Regions from separate parts of the Homo sapiens genome. Here regions 2 and 3 are each linked to region 1. The links are contacts of gene promoters, found by promoter capture Hi-C in blood cells and fetal thymus (Javierre and others, 2016). All regions are on one chromosome and are shown on one strand. The core of a region is centred on a gene start or on the middle of the fragment in contact, and the rest is flanking DNA. Distances in the headings are between cores, read along the strand shown. Region 1 holds the start of BCCIP (BRCA2 and CDKN1A interacting protein). Region 2 holds the start of BNIP3 (BCL2 interacting protein 3). Region 3 holds the start of MTG1 (mitochondrial ribosome associated GTPase 1).

Evidence for each region. The method cuts DNA at HindIII sites, captures the fragments that hold promoters and counts their contacts. A CHiCAGO score of 5 or more calls a contact.
Region 2: the fragment with the promoter of BNIP3 here is called in contact with the fragment with the promoter of BCCIP in region 1 in 2 of 17 cell types (total CD8 T cells and naive CD8 T cells); the score reaches 8.8 in total CD8 T cells.
Region 3: a fragment that was not itself captured here is called in contact with the fragment with the promoter of BCCIP in region 1 in 1 of 17 cell types (fetal thymus); the score reaches 5.2 in fetal thymus.

What each region holds. Positions count from the first base shown.
Region 1 is chr10:125,821,814-125,826,247 of GRCh38, forward strand. It overlaps BCCIP (BRCA2 and CDKN1A interacting protein), which reads left to right and starts at 1,733. Exons shown (of 7, transcript NM_078468.3): 1 at 1,733-1,909. The coding sequence starts at 1,745. It overlaps UROS (uroporphyrinogen III synthase), which reads right to left and starts at 1,445. Exons shown (of 10, transcript NM_000375.3): 1 at 1,216-1,445. RefSeq lists silencers at 1,092-1,521, 2,278-2,497 and enhancers at 1,373-2,058, 1,602-1,801. The HindIII fragment of the contact is 3,281 bases long and covers 1,517-4,434 here.
Region 2 is chr10:131,979,597-131,984,175 of GRCh38, forward strand. It overlaps BNIP3 (BCL2 interacting protein 3), which reads right to left and starts at 2,327. Exons shown (of 6, transcript NM_004052.4): 1 at 2,165-2,327. The coding sequence starts at 2,210. RefSeq lists an enhancer at 1,506-2,430 and silencers at 1,838-2,067, 2,298-2,597, 2,648-2,837, 2,878-2,997. The HindIII fragment of the contact is 3,266 bases long and covers 1,577-4,579 here.
Region 3 is chr10:133,392,830-133,397,034 of GRCh38, forward strand. It overlaps MTG1 (mitochondrial ribosome associated GTPase 1), which reads left to right and starts at 1,328. Exons shown (of 11, transcript NM_138384.4): 1 at 1,328-1,503; 2 at 2,884-2,948; 3 at 3,334-3,438. The coding sequence starts at 1,392. RefSeq lists silencers at 1,120-1,469, 1,530-1,729 and an enhancer at 2,054-3,008. The HindIII fragment of the contact is 1,143 bases long and covers 2,157-3,299 here.

The DNA.
Region 1 (4,434 bases), core at 483-2,982:
CGACCCAAAGAGGCCATTTCAAGCTGCCCCATCAGATGTGGAGCGCTGATGTGTAAGTATTACTTTAATATCCATGACATGGCTGGGTAGACAAGAGACTCCCAGGAAAGACCGAAATCACAGAACACGATTATGGGCAATCTGGGCTCCTGGGGACCTTTAGGGCACGCCATCTCGTACTGATGAAGGATCACTGATTTATCAGATGTTACCCTGCTTAAACAGAAGCAGCCTATTAGCGCAGCTCACACCATTCCTAGAATCAAACATATCCAACCCACCCCCCTCATTTTACAGAGAAAAATCAATTGAGAACCGCAGATCTTATTCCTAGAAAGCTGATGAACCCTGTTTCTCTCGCAATGGGAAGACCTGGCTGCCCCAGGCTGCATCCCCACCTGCCACAGGGGCTGGCGCTCGCTCTGCAGTTGGCCGCAGTCCCCTCCACTCTTCTCTCCAAATAGGCTCGGGTCTTTAACCTAGACTACCCCACTGGCCCCGAAGCATTTTTTTTTTTTTTTAGATAGGGTCTACCTCTGTCGCCCAGGCTGGAGTGTGGAGTGCGGTGGCGCGATCTCGGCTCACTGCAACCTCCGTCTCCTGGGGGCATGCGATTCTCCTGCCTTAGCCTCCTGAGTAGCTGGGACTACAGGCGCGCACCACCACACCTGGCTAGTTTTTGTATTTTTAGTAGAGATGGGATTTCGCCATGTTGGGCAGGCTGGTCTCGAACTCCTGACCTCAAGTGATCCACCCATCTCGGCCTCCCAAAGTGCTGGGATTACAGGTGTCCGCCACCACGCCCGGCTAATTTTTGTACTTTTAGCAGAGATGAGGTTTTGCCATGTTGGCCAGGCTGGTCTCGAACTCCTGACCTCTGGTGATCCACCCGCTTTGACCTCCCTAAGTGCTGGGATTACAGGCGCGAGACACCGGGCCCGGCCCCCCGCCGAAGCATTTTTAACTGCGGTGCCGGCTTTAAAAAAACTTTTAGGTCAAGAAATGCGCTCCAGAAGCTCGGCGAGGGTAGGCTGGGCAGGCGCCTTCCGTCACCGGCGCAGCGGTAGCGGCAGCGGACATCCCCGCCTGGGCAGGCCCAGGTCCGCGGAAGCCTCGGGGCCCTGGCCCCACTGTGTCACACACCGCCCGGGGCCGGGCCCCTGCACGCCCGCGGGCTTCGGCGTCCGTACCGGTACAGCGGGCGGCGACACCTACCTCGCGGGACCGTGCCCAGCACCCGGCCTGGCACACAGCGGGCACCCGGTCGGGGGGCGGTGTCGCGCAGTCCCAGCGAAAAGGCTGCAGGAGCAATGACAACAGGGGCGGAAGCCCCCTCCCCACGCAGCCCGAGGGGCCGCGGCGGCCACCCGCGCCGGGCCCCAGGACCCCGCACCTCAGACTGGGGTCGCGTGGGTGGCTGCGCGCAGCTAGGCGCTCGCGCATGCGCACCGCCATCCAGGCCACGGAATGAGGCCAGAGGTTAGATGGGTTGAACCACTACGGGAAGGGGAGGGGAAGCTTTGGGAGGAGTGATGGAGGGTGGAAAGCGGAAGAAAAAAGCAAGATGGGACCGCAAGCTGGACGTGACTGTAAGGGGTCATGGCTGCGGAATCCAGCAGGGGCATTGGGGTTGACGTGCACTCAGCGCCGAGCTTCTTCGTAGTTCCTCACCCCCTTGGCTACTATGGGCTGGTCCGGAAGGTCAGGCAAGGGGAAGCTGCGCAGGCGCAGTGTGAGCGGCAACATGGCGTCCAGGTCTAAGCGGCGTGCCGTGGAAAGTGGGGTTCCGCAGCCGCCGGATCCCCCAGTCCAGCGCGACGAGGAAGAGGAAAAAGAAGTCGAAAATGAGGATGAAGACGATGATGACAGTGACAAGGAAAAGGATGAAGAGGACGAGGTCATTGACGAGGTGAGAAGGACACGCTCCCCTAGTTGGTTTATACCTGAGAAAAACTTTTTGGCAAGCCCAGGCTGTGTAAAAATAGTGTAGGGTCTTCCCTGACCCTGAGGGTCTGTGAGGAGAAACTGGAGATAAGTTCTTTCTCAGGTTTCTCCTCGGTCTTTAACACACTGCAGCCATAGTAGTTATTTTTTAAAGGTCTAGTCCGGTCCAGTTAATCTCCCAACCCGCGTCCTCCCCGAAAAAGCCCGCCACAACAGGTGTGTTCTTCTCGTCCTCTTTAGTTCTCAGGCTGAAGCCTCAGATCCTGAATCGGCCACCCCGGGCTCGCAGAGGGGGCCCTCTCCCCTCGGGGCAGCAGCTGTCCTCCTCTTCACTCTGCGGGCGGCACTCACTTGGGCCCTCAGTTTCTTGAAGGCTCTTGCCGCGTTCTACCGTAGAAGCCTTTTCAAATGCTCTTCTTTATCCTGCAGTTTTCCCTTCCTTCTTCAGATCTCAGCTAGGCTGTATTTTCTGGCTCCTGGGGCAGCTGACCAAGTCGTGGGTAAATCTTTGGTTTCATAGTCTCATAGAACTGTGTTCCTTTCTTCAGACTAGGTCCTACCGTAGTGCCTGGCAATATAGGTACTTATTATTTGTTTAGTAAACAATTAGGACTGAATGATCCTTCAGCCTACTGAATGTTTAAATAGATACCTCAGCCTTAACTTGTCCAAAGCAGAATTTGTATAATAATTCATGCCCCTCTCTTAATCGTCACCATTTCTATAAATGGCCCCTAAAGTCACCAGCTGCTCTAACCCAAAACCTGGGGCTTAACTTTAATTCCTCCCTTTCCTCATCCTATATCCAGCCCATCAGTAAATCCTGTTATCCAGACATTTCTCAGCACTAATTCTGAGACCATCGTAGTCCACACCTCTATCATCTCTTGCCTGGACTACTATTTAATGTAACAGCTTTTAACCGGCGTTCTTTTCTCCATTTTTGTTCCCCTACAATCAGTCTATACTCCACTTACAGTCAGAGAGATCTTATAGGTCTGATCTCAGGCCTCTGCTTAGATTGCTGCATTGGCTTTCTAGTTCATTTACAAGAAAATCAAGAGTCTTCACAATTGAGGGACGGAAAGGCAGCCTAGATGGCTGGATCAGAATAAGGAAGAGAGAGTGATAGGAAATAAAATCAGAGAGGTAATCATGAGTCATGATGAGCATGGAGGGGAGCATGGAGAGAAGCATGGATGCAGGATTAGAGGTGACACCATGGTGTGGGTATGTGATCAATCTTCCTTCCCTTACAAATTTTACTTTGGCTCTATGCCTTGAATGCCATCTCACCATTTTTCACTTAGAACTTTGACTGGCTCTTTTATTACTTTTGGGTTATAGAAATCAATGCTGCTTGTGTTAACATGGGAAATCTATCACACCACCACAGTCTTAATTCTAAATCACCTGGGAATGAGGGACAGGGCTCTTTTCTACAAACGTGACTGTTCCTGCTGAAGCCATGTGGAGATGAGCCCATACCCAGGAAAAGGGTGCTGGACAGATAATCCATTTGCCGCCCATTTCCCTGGTGGTGCCATAATAGTCTGGGACAGAGGTCCGAGATGTCTGTCTAGACAAAGAAAAAAACACTAGATGAGCATTATTTACAGAATGTATTTATATCTAAGGAATAAGTTTAAGTCCTGAATAATGACAGTTTGTTATTTGGTTTAGTTTGATCCTGTTTGGAACACTCCCACCCGACCCCTTGTGTTTTGCTGCTCACATAATCTGGCTAAGTTAGCATTTGAAGTCTGCAAAGCTGGACTTAAAGAGTTCAAATTGGAGCTGGAATTGCTCTAAGCAATTCCAGGGCCTTGCAATTTTACAATTAAGGAAGACTTAAATATATACATAGTCAGGGTGGCAAGGTAAAAGGAGGTCTGATTTCCTCTGCGATGTTCTTCAGCTAAGACCTAAATTCTGAAACCGTTAAAACCTGAAGTGCCTTTAAATATATTATTTCATCAGAGCCCCAGGTTCATTGTGTCACTTATCAAGGTCTGATTTAGGGTCCTCAAGGACTAATCTTGTTAGTGTTTAAAAGCAACTAGGTTTTGTTTTTGGCATTTTAGTTCCATCTTCTAGATTCTGTTGTCTTGCAGATAGAGATCAGGGAGCCCAGCTACACATTCATTCTTCTAGTCCCTTGTACTCATTGTATTTCCTTCTGCCTTAGGGCCTTAGTTTGTGCTGTTCCCTGTACCAGGAACTCTCTTTGCTGTTTCTCGGTTTCTTGCTCAAATGTCACTTCAAGGAAGGCTTTCCTGACTGACTTCTTATTTTTTAAGTTGTTACAACATTGTGTACCTTTGTTTTATAGCACTTACATTTATTTCTATGAATATTTCCTTAATGCCTATATTCCTTCCTAAATCGTAAGCTGCACGAGAGCAGGATCATTTGTGTCTGCCTTACTAACCTTTTCATCTTGAGTGCCTGGCACAGTGCTTGGTACCTGGATTGATACTTAATAAATAT
Region 2 (4,579 bases), core at 1,077-3,576, 6.2 Mb after region 1:
GCCAAGTTCATGGCTACAGTGAGCTATAATGATTGTGCTACTGCACTCCAGCCTGGGGGAGTAAGACTGGGCTTGTAAAAAAAAGGAAAAGGACAAATACGAGCATCCTGCGAGTCAACAACTTTAGCTAGAATGATCAAGAGATAGAAAGGAACAGAATCAGCCCATTTTGCCATTAACTCTTTAGGAAAAGCAGTTGGCCCCAGAGGGTACACTCAGAGGAGAGAGTGCTTGCTGCTTCCATCCGTGGGTCTGGCTGCAAGGCTCCCATTGTTCTCTGTTCCGAGGTCAACAAGGGGCAGTGAAATCGGACAGGCAGAGGTGAGCGCTGCCTGAGCCACCGCTCCGTCCCGGATTTGCAGGCAGCTGGAGCCCGCGGGACCGGCCAACCCCGCCCACGCCGAGCCCACAGTGGCCCCGTCCTGCCGCGCGGACACTCAGGGCGGCCCAAGGAATCGCCTACATGGGATCCACCCCGCGGGTAACTATCTTTTTATAGAATAAACAAAACAGAAAAACAAAAATCTCGTAACTCCGGCGCTGGCCGCCTTGCACTGCCAATGACTCAGCAGCCTGTGTAAGTTACATATTGGAGAGAGGACCGAGCCCCCCGGAGCCCCCTCCACCTCCCAGCGCCCAGATCCCAGCCGGACAGTGAAACGCACAATGTCAGGAGTAACGCGGCTTCACAACCGGAAAATGGGTGATTTTATGGCAAAGAGTTTATAAAAACATCCCTTGGACTTTATTTTATGACAAAAGATAGGAAAACACCTCTTAATCTATTTCAAAATAGTAATTAGCCAATGTTTAAATTTCAAGAGGAAAAATCCGAATTACAGGATTTTAAAGAATATGGTTTTAGGCCAGGCGCGCCTGGTGGCTCAGGCCTATAATCCCAGCACTTTGGGAGGCCGAGGCGGGAGGATCGCTTGAGCCCAGTTCAGACCAGCCTGGGCAACACAGTGAGACCCCGTCTCTTAAAAAAAAAAAAAGGTAAAAAAAAAAAGCTTGTAGTGTTCATATGTATATATATATATTATTCAATATATTACGGTAACTAAGTCCTGCCTAGTAAAATCTTTTTTTTTGTAATAAAATTAGCAACTCACTAAATTTATGTGAATATATGGTTTTAAAAACTCTCAATGAAGATTAAAAGTTCACTGTCAGAGGTTTCAGCAGTCCTTTCCCAAGCTTATTTACATGCTAATTTTGCTTAGTAAACTCTGGCTTCAAAGAACACAAAGGTCAGCTGCCACCAGGTCCCTCCTCCGAGGCTTTGGCCCTAGGGACCCTGGGAAGGCGGCTTCAGTGCCCGCTTCCCTGAGCAAAGGCTCGTCTGGACTCTGACGCGGACCCACCGGGTGGGGTGGGTCTCCACGCCACCCGGCTGTGCGTGGGGCAAGTCCTGCACCCCGGGCCTGCGTTTCCCGCTGCGTGAACGGATGGTCTTGCGAATCTAGCCAAGGGCACACAGCGAGCCTCTACTCGGGCATTAGGCAGGCTGTAACGACTGAGTGCTGCACGGGCAGCGTCCTTTTGCTTGTGTTTTCTTAACCCGTAAGTCATTTAAAGCTTTGTTTTGGAACGACCCTCTAGTGAAATTGGAACATGCCCATTTAATGCCATATTTTAAAAACGCTGTAACCCCCTCCCATCTCCGCGTTCACCCTTGAGGAAATCCTAACAGTCACCATGGATATAAACATTAATAACAAAATTAAAGCTCATAACAGGCCACTTGCCACGCCTTGGTGTTTGGTCATTAAAACCAATACTGGTCTGAACTACAGACCGCGGAGGGCAACGTGGACTTTGAGGCTGTTCGGTCCAACTGCGAGACGCAGATTCACCTCCAGGTGGAATTCTAGCTCGCGCGGAGCTGGAGAATCGGGGCTTTCCCGTGCGGTCCGACCCGGGTCCAAGCCAACCCCCGCCCGAGTGGCGAGGCCGCGAACCCCGGGCAGTACGCGGGGTCCCCACGCCCCGGGCTCCGCATGCCCGCAGGAGGGGTGGGTACGGAAGGGGAGGATGGCGCAGCCTCGCCCGGCCCGCGATGCCCCCTAGGCCTCCCCGGCAACCTCCCCTTGGCGCCCTCTTGGCCTTCCCCAGGCTTCCCCCCCGCGCCCCCTCGGCTCCCGCGCCGCCTCCTCCGCCTCACCCTGCAGGCTCTCCTCCTGCATCCCGGGCGCTCCGTTCTGCGACATGGCGCCAGAGGGCAACTGCGGCGATCGGAGTCCGCGCCGGGCTGCGGGATGTGCTTCAGCTGCGGGCGGTGGGAAAGCGGAGGTCGGAGCGCCGCGGCCCAGCTGCGCTCCCGGACTGAGCGGAGCCCCGCAGCCCGGCCGGAGGAACTCACAGGGCAGGGCGGGGCCGGGCGGATCTGCGGCCGCGTCGCCCATTGGCCGCGACTTGGGGCCTGCGCGTGCGCAGGGGCGTGGGGTGCGTGTGGCACGTGCGGCGCGTGCGCGGGGCGGGTCCTGCGGTGGGCGAGGGGCAGAGGCCTGCGGTGCGCGGGACGCGGGCGGGGAGAGGGGCGGGGCGAGGGGCGCGCAGGCGCGAGGGCGGCAGCGACCGCCTGAGGTGAGCCGGCCCGGGCTGGACGCCGCGGGCCGCGTGACGAGTGGGCTGCGCGGTCGCCGCCGCGGCGGGCGGTGGGCCGGGTTCTCCTTTGAAGGGGCGGTGGGACCGGCGGACTCTCTGGGCACTGGCTACCACGGAGACGCCGCTACGCTTCGGGGCGGGGCCCGTCTTTCCATCCTGCTAGTGGGGAAACTGAGGCGCGGGGCTGGCGGCGTCCGTGCGGGGGGCGTGAGGACGTGCAGGGAAGCGGCCGCTGCGGCTCCGAGACGGCCCGTGGGGTCGGGACCTGCGCCCGGGGCGGGAGCTGCGAGCGGTGGGCCGGAGCTGAGCGTCTCGGGACGGGACCGCGTCCCCGGGTCTTTGCCCGCCCCGCCGGGGCGCCCCTGCGTGAACAGCGGGGCCCGTTGTGTCCGGGGCGTCCGCCCGCAGGAAGAAGCGGAGGCTCGAGCAGAGTCGAAAGAGTCTGCCCGAGGGAGGCGCGGACCCCAGGGGCCCGGGAGAGGCGCGCCGTCCGCCTCTGCGGCAAGGGGCCTCCGGGGTGCAAACGCGGTGTGGGGCGGGCGTCCCCGGGGTGGGACGCCCCGTCCACGGGGCGGAGTGGCGCTTGGTCGGGCCGGGTGGGTGCCCGGCTTCCGTGGGAGCCAGCCTGGCGTGGGGGCCTCGCAGCCTCGGGACTGGGAGGCACTTTTCAGAGGAAAGTCGCTTTCTCATTTCCCGCTTTTGATCAAAAGTCTTTCTTCTTGAAAGCATTGTTGATCCAAATCCAAGTGTCAAGGTGCGCCCCAGAAACGCTGCTTCCCAGACAGTCGTGTCTGGTCTTGCGGGAAAGGAGGAGGCGTCCCGCCAAGGAACCAGGCGCTCAGAAGCTGAACCGGGGTCACAGAGCCGCGAAGCCAGACCTCAGTCGCTGCGTGCATTTCATCCCTGCTCTTGCCTGTTGAATCGTCTCTAGTCTTTGGAGTGCCATGATTTTAGTTTTCTCAGGAGTAACAAACATCCAGAGGCCAGTGTGGGGCGCATGTCTTTCATCTCAGCACTTTGGGAGGCCGAGGCAGGAGGATCGCTGGAGCCCAGGAGTTGGAGACCAGTCTGGGCAATATGGCGAAACGCTTTCTCTCCCCTAAAAAAATACAAAAAACTTAGCTGGGTATGGTGGCACCTGCTGTGGGAGGATTCCTTGAGCCCAGGAGGTAGGGGCTACAGTGAGCCATGATCAGGCCACTACCCTCCAGCCTGGGCAACAGTGTGAGACCCTGTCTCAAAAAAAAAAAAAAAAAAACCGCCAGAGATACATAGCATAGCATTAATAATTTCGATAGTAGAACTGTAGTGCTGGCCAGGCAGTGGTTCTTGTGTGTAATCCCAGCATTTGGGGAGCCCAAGGCAGGAGGGTCACTTGAGCCTGATAGTTCAAGACCAACCTGGCAACACAGAAAGACTCCATCTCTATTAAAACAAAAATGTTACCAAGTACGGTGCACATAAGGATTACAATGAAAAAGAGAATGTGTATGCCAGAATGAAAAACGGAACCTATTCGAGGGAGTCAACTAAAAGTATTACGAAGAAAATCAAATGGAGAATTGTTCAGAATAGTGTAGCCTAGTGGCTTGTACTTTTTCCCATATGAGTTTCTACTTCGTGGAAAGGGTTTATGCACATCAAGAGGTATTTGCCACCATACATAGACTTGCTTGCTCAGCTAATAATCGAAAGCAATGCAGTCGTCCAGTGCAGCCTTAGCCAGTGAGTCAGTAGCTTTTTGTTGGGCTGTGATGGAGGCAGCAGTTTCATCAGCAATATTTCCTGATAGGCCAGATATGCTCGCAGTCATCCCAAGTAAAAGCAAACAAATACTGACTCTAGGTCCACTGGAATACTAAAGAAGGCACTACATAAATGAGTCACAGTGTCTCACTTCCAGCTGCCGAAAGAGGATGGGGCTTTGGTACTACCAGATGTCTGGGGATCACAGTGTTGATGACGGTTCTCA
Region 3 (4,205 bases), core at 1,478-3,977, 7.6 Mb after region 1:
AAAAATATTTACAGCTAGGCGTTAGGGTATTAGGTGGTTTAAGAACATCAGAACCATGGCAATATTTTTGTACTTAGAATTTGAGCATGTTTGGTATTTTCAGTAGCTTGTTTAAAAAATTCCAGTAGAGGCTGGGTGCCATGGCTCATGCCTGTAATTCCAGCACTTTGGGAGGCTGAGGTGGGCAGATCACCTGAGGTCAGAGTTCGAGACTAGCCTGGCCAACATGGTGAAACCCCATCTCTACTAAAAATACAAAAAAAGTAGCCGGGCGTGGTGGTGCGCACCTGTAGTCCCAGCTACTCAGGAGGCTAAGGCAGGAGAACTGCTTGAACCCCGGGAGGCGGAGGTTGCAGTGAGCCAAGATCACGCCACTGCACTCCAGCCTGGCGACAGAGCGAGACTCCGTCTCAAAAATAAAAATTCCGGTAGAGTAATACTCTTGTAACGCAGTGTGCAATTGAGCAGTTGCTGACTGCTGATTTAGAGTTGAAATCCGACTATATTTATGTCTAGTCTTGGACAGTGGAGAATATTTCAGCCTCATTAATTAATCGGTTTAATTTAGCAGAACTGCAGTCAGTATTTGGAAACAGTTTGTTATATTAAACCCTGAAGTACTTGAGGCTGCGCGCGGTGGCTCATGCCTGTAATCCCAGCATTTTGGGAGGCCGAGACAGGTAGATCACTTGAGGTCAGGAGTTGGAGACCAGCCTGGCCAACATGGTGGAACTCCATCTCTACTAAAAATACAAAATCAGCCGGCGTGGTGGCAGGCGCCAGTAATCCCAGCTACTCCGGAGGCTGAGGTGGGAGAATCCCTTGAACTCAGGAGTTGGAGGTTGCAATGAGCGAGATCGTGCCACTGCACTCTTGGGCAACAGAGCGGAGACTCCGTCTCAAACAAAACAAAACAAACAAAAACCCTGAAGTACTTAAAAAGAAAATGAAGAGATTACATTTATAAGGTAAATTTAAAGTATTTGAGAGATTTTAACCAAATTGTAAAAAGAGATTGCTAAATTTTTACACTTATACTCAGGATATGCTTAAGGGAGAACGATGATTTTTAATATTTAATGAATGTTAATAAATCTGCGAATTACTTAAACCCACAAAACCCAGGAACCTCCCCGTCCCCCCGGGTCTCCTCGCAGTCCCGCCCCGACGCTCGACCCACCATTCGTCCCTCCCTCTGGGCCCGGGCCCCGCCCACTCCGGGCTTCGCCGGAGGCGGAGGCAACGTCGTGCGCACGCGCAGGCCGTGGTGCGGCCCCTTGGAGCGCCGGAAGCCCGCAGTGCCGGAGGCCCGCAGCGCCGGAACCTCAGAGGCGGGTCGCAGCGGCGCAGAGGAGGTCAGCTGCGGGAGCGTTTCCGGGGACGGTGCCGCCATGAGATTGACCCCGCGCGCGCTGTGCAGCGCCGCCCAGGCCGCCTGGCGGGAGAACTTCCCCCTGTGCGGTCGCGACGTGGCGCGCTGGTTCCCGGGCCACATGGCCAAGGGTGAGGCACGGCGGGGAGGGGCAAGGTCATGCCTACGGCCGCGGCGCCTCTGCTTCCCTCCCACCCCGGTTTCGGCCGTCGCCTGCTTCTCCCGGTCGTTCTGGGCTGGCCCCGCCCCTCCTCCCTTGTCTCCCCTCCTTCCCCGCTCTCACCCGCTCCCGGAGCCGCCGGGACCCCTTCCCCTGCGCAGCTGCGGGAGAGGCCCGTTCCCGCGAGTGCCCCCGCGGCGCAGCCTCGGACCCAGGGCCTGCTTGACCTCCTACCTCTGGCCCGCCGCCCCTGTCCTCTGTTCCCAGCAAGTTCCTTCTGCCCTTTTAATCCCCCGAAGCCTCCGTTTCCACATGTTCTTGACAAGATAGACTTTTCTGAGTCTTTTGGGGACTAAATGAAACAGTGGGTATGAAGGCACCTGTTCAGTTTTAACTGGTATCTTGAGTCGTTCTCCTGCTTAACGTCTTTGGTAATTCTTACTGTTTGTCACAATTCGGCCCCAAGAAGACCTCTGGGGCCAGCCCAGCCCGTCTAGGTGTTGTGATGGCCACTCCTGCGTCGGCTCCGCGTGTACTGGGGGCCGAGGGGGAAGAAGGGCCCGTGTGGGTGACTGAGGCTGTGTCCTCGGTCTTCGGATAACACTGGAGGGGAAGAAAGCTGGAAGCTTTGTTATCTTGGTTGTGTGTGGTATTCCTGGTTAGGGGACTATCGTCATCATCCCCGCGAGGTAGCAGGGGCCTAATGAGCCAGTGTTACTCTGTGTTATAGCCCAGATTAAGACCCGTGGAAGGGCCCGGCCCGGTGGCTCACGCTTGTAATCCCAGTACTTTGGGAGGCCGAGGTGGGCAGATCACGAGGTCAGGACATCGAGACTATCCTGGCCAGCATGGTGAAACCGTGTCTCTACTAAAAATACAAAAAATTAGCCCGGCATGGTGGCGCGTCCCTGTAGTCCCAGCTACTCGGGAGGCTGAGGCAGGAGAATTGCTTGAACCTGGCAGGCGGAGGTTGCAGTGAGCCGAGATCGTGCCACTGCACTCCAGCCTGGGTGACAGAGCAAGACTCCGTCTCAGAAAACAAAAAAGCGACCCATGCACGTTAAATATTCCACCCAGAGTCAGCCATGAGTCAGGTGGTGAAGACCGCATCTGGCTTTTGACACATGGCCCACCCTGTGGCAGGGTGCCTCCCAGTCTCCCACTCCGAGGGTGCGGACCTTGGAGGAGGCGCTCAGCGGATGTTATCTGTTACCATTACTTAGTACGCTTCCCTCAGATATAGTCTTTTTAGGTTATTTATGGTGGCGTGTCATTCTGGACGGTTCAGCTTGAATCGATCACTCTAGAAAGGTTGTGAGCCCCTTCGCTGAGGCGTCCTTCTGTTTTCCAGGGCTGAAGAAGATGCAGAGCAGCCTGAAGCTGGTGGACTGTATCATCGAGGTCCACGATGCCCGGATATCCTTTCACAGAGCAGGGGAGGCCCCTCTGCCTGAAGTCATATTACACATTAGAATTACCTGGGGAGGCTTTTAAAAATATGAATTGCGAGGCCCCTTTCTAGACCAGTTAATCAGAATCTGTGATGTGGGGTCCAGACTGCGTGTCTTTGAAACTTCATTGTTAATACATATATCTGCGTCACTCAAGCCTGACGGTACGGTGCAGCAGTGGAATCCTCTAGATGGGCTATGAAACTGTTTAAATGTTCCTGCCAACTGGGGCTTTTCTCCTGTACTTGAGGAATGAATTGGCAGGATGTGATGATTCGTTCACTGATGGCAAGAAAAAAAGTTGGTTGGCTGGTAAAGCTTTGGAGGAATTTTTACCTTAATTTTGCCACATCCCACTTTCAGGCCGCAACCCTCTGTTTCAGGAAACCCTTGGGCTTAAGCCTCACTTGCTGGTCCTCAACAAGATGGACTTGGCGGATCTTACAGAGCAGCAGGTAAAGGCCTTTCTCTCAGACGCCTTCAGCAGTGTGGCTGTGTTTTCCCGAGGTCGCTTGTTCTAACGGAAGAGTTGCCGGACGCACACTTGTCAGTTTGCCCAGGCAGGCTCTGCTTTAGAAACAGCCCTTTGCTTTGCAGAAGCGTGCCAGCATCGTTTCTCATATGGCGTGCCCCCATCTAATGTGTGGTTCGTGACCTGGACACCCAGGGAGTGCACGTCTCCTGTGGGAAGTGGCCAGGTTGTGCTGCCAGAGCCCGAGTGGTCAGTGAGTGCGCATTGTGGGCAGCAAGCCACCCAGGTGCCGAGGCAAGAGACCGAGGACACGAGCTTTTCCAGTGTAATAAAACATATGAAATAAGAATAGTTATACTAGATATAGGTCATAGATATGATTGTATATGAATATTACTAATCATTAGTTTGTAGCAATTACTCTTCATTCCAATATTATTATAATTCTTGCTCTATAATCATAACCTAGGAAAAACCAGGCCATACAGAGATAGGAGCTGAGGGGACATAGTGAGACGTGACAAGTGTGTGAGCCTTCTGTTATGCCCAGACAGGGCCACCAGAGGACTCCTTGGTCTAGCGGTAACGCCAGTGTCTGGGAAGACGCCCGTTGCCAAGCCGACTGTGGTCTAGCGGTAGCGTCAGTGTCAAGGAAAAGCACCCGCTACTTAGCAGACCGGGAAAGGGAGTCTCCCTTTCCCCAGGGGAGTTTAGAGAAGACTCTACTCCTCCACCTCTTGTGGAGGACCT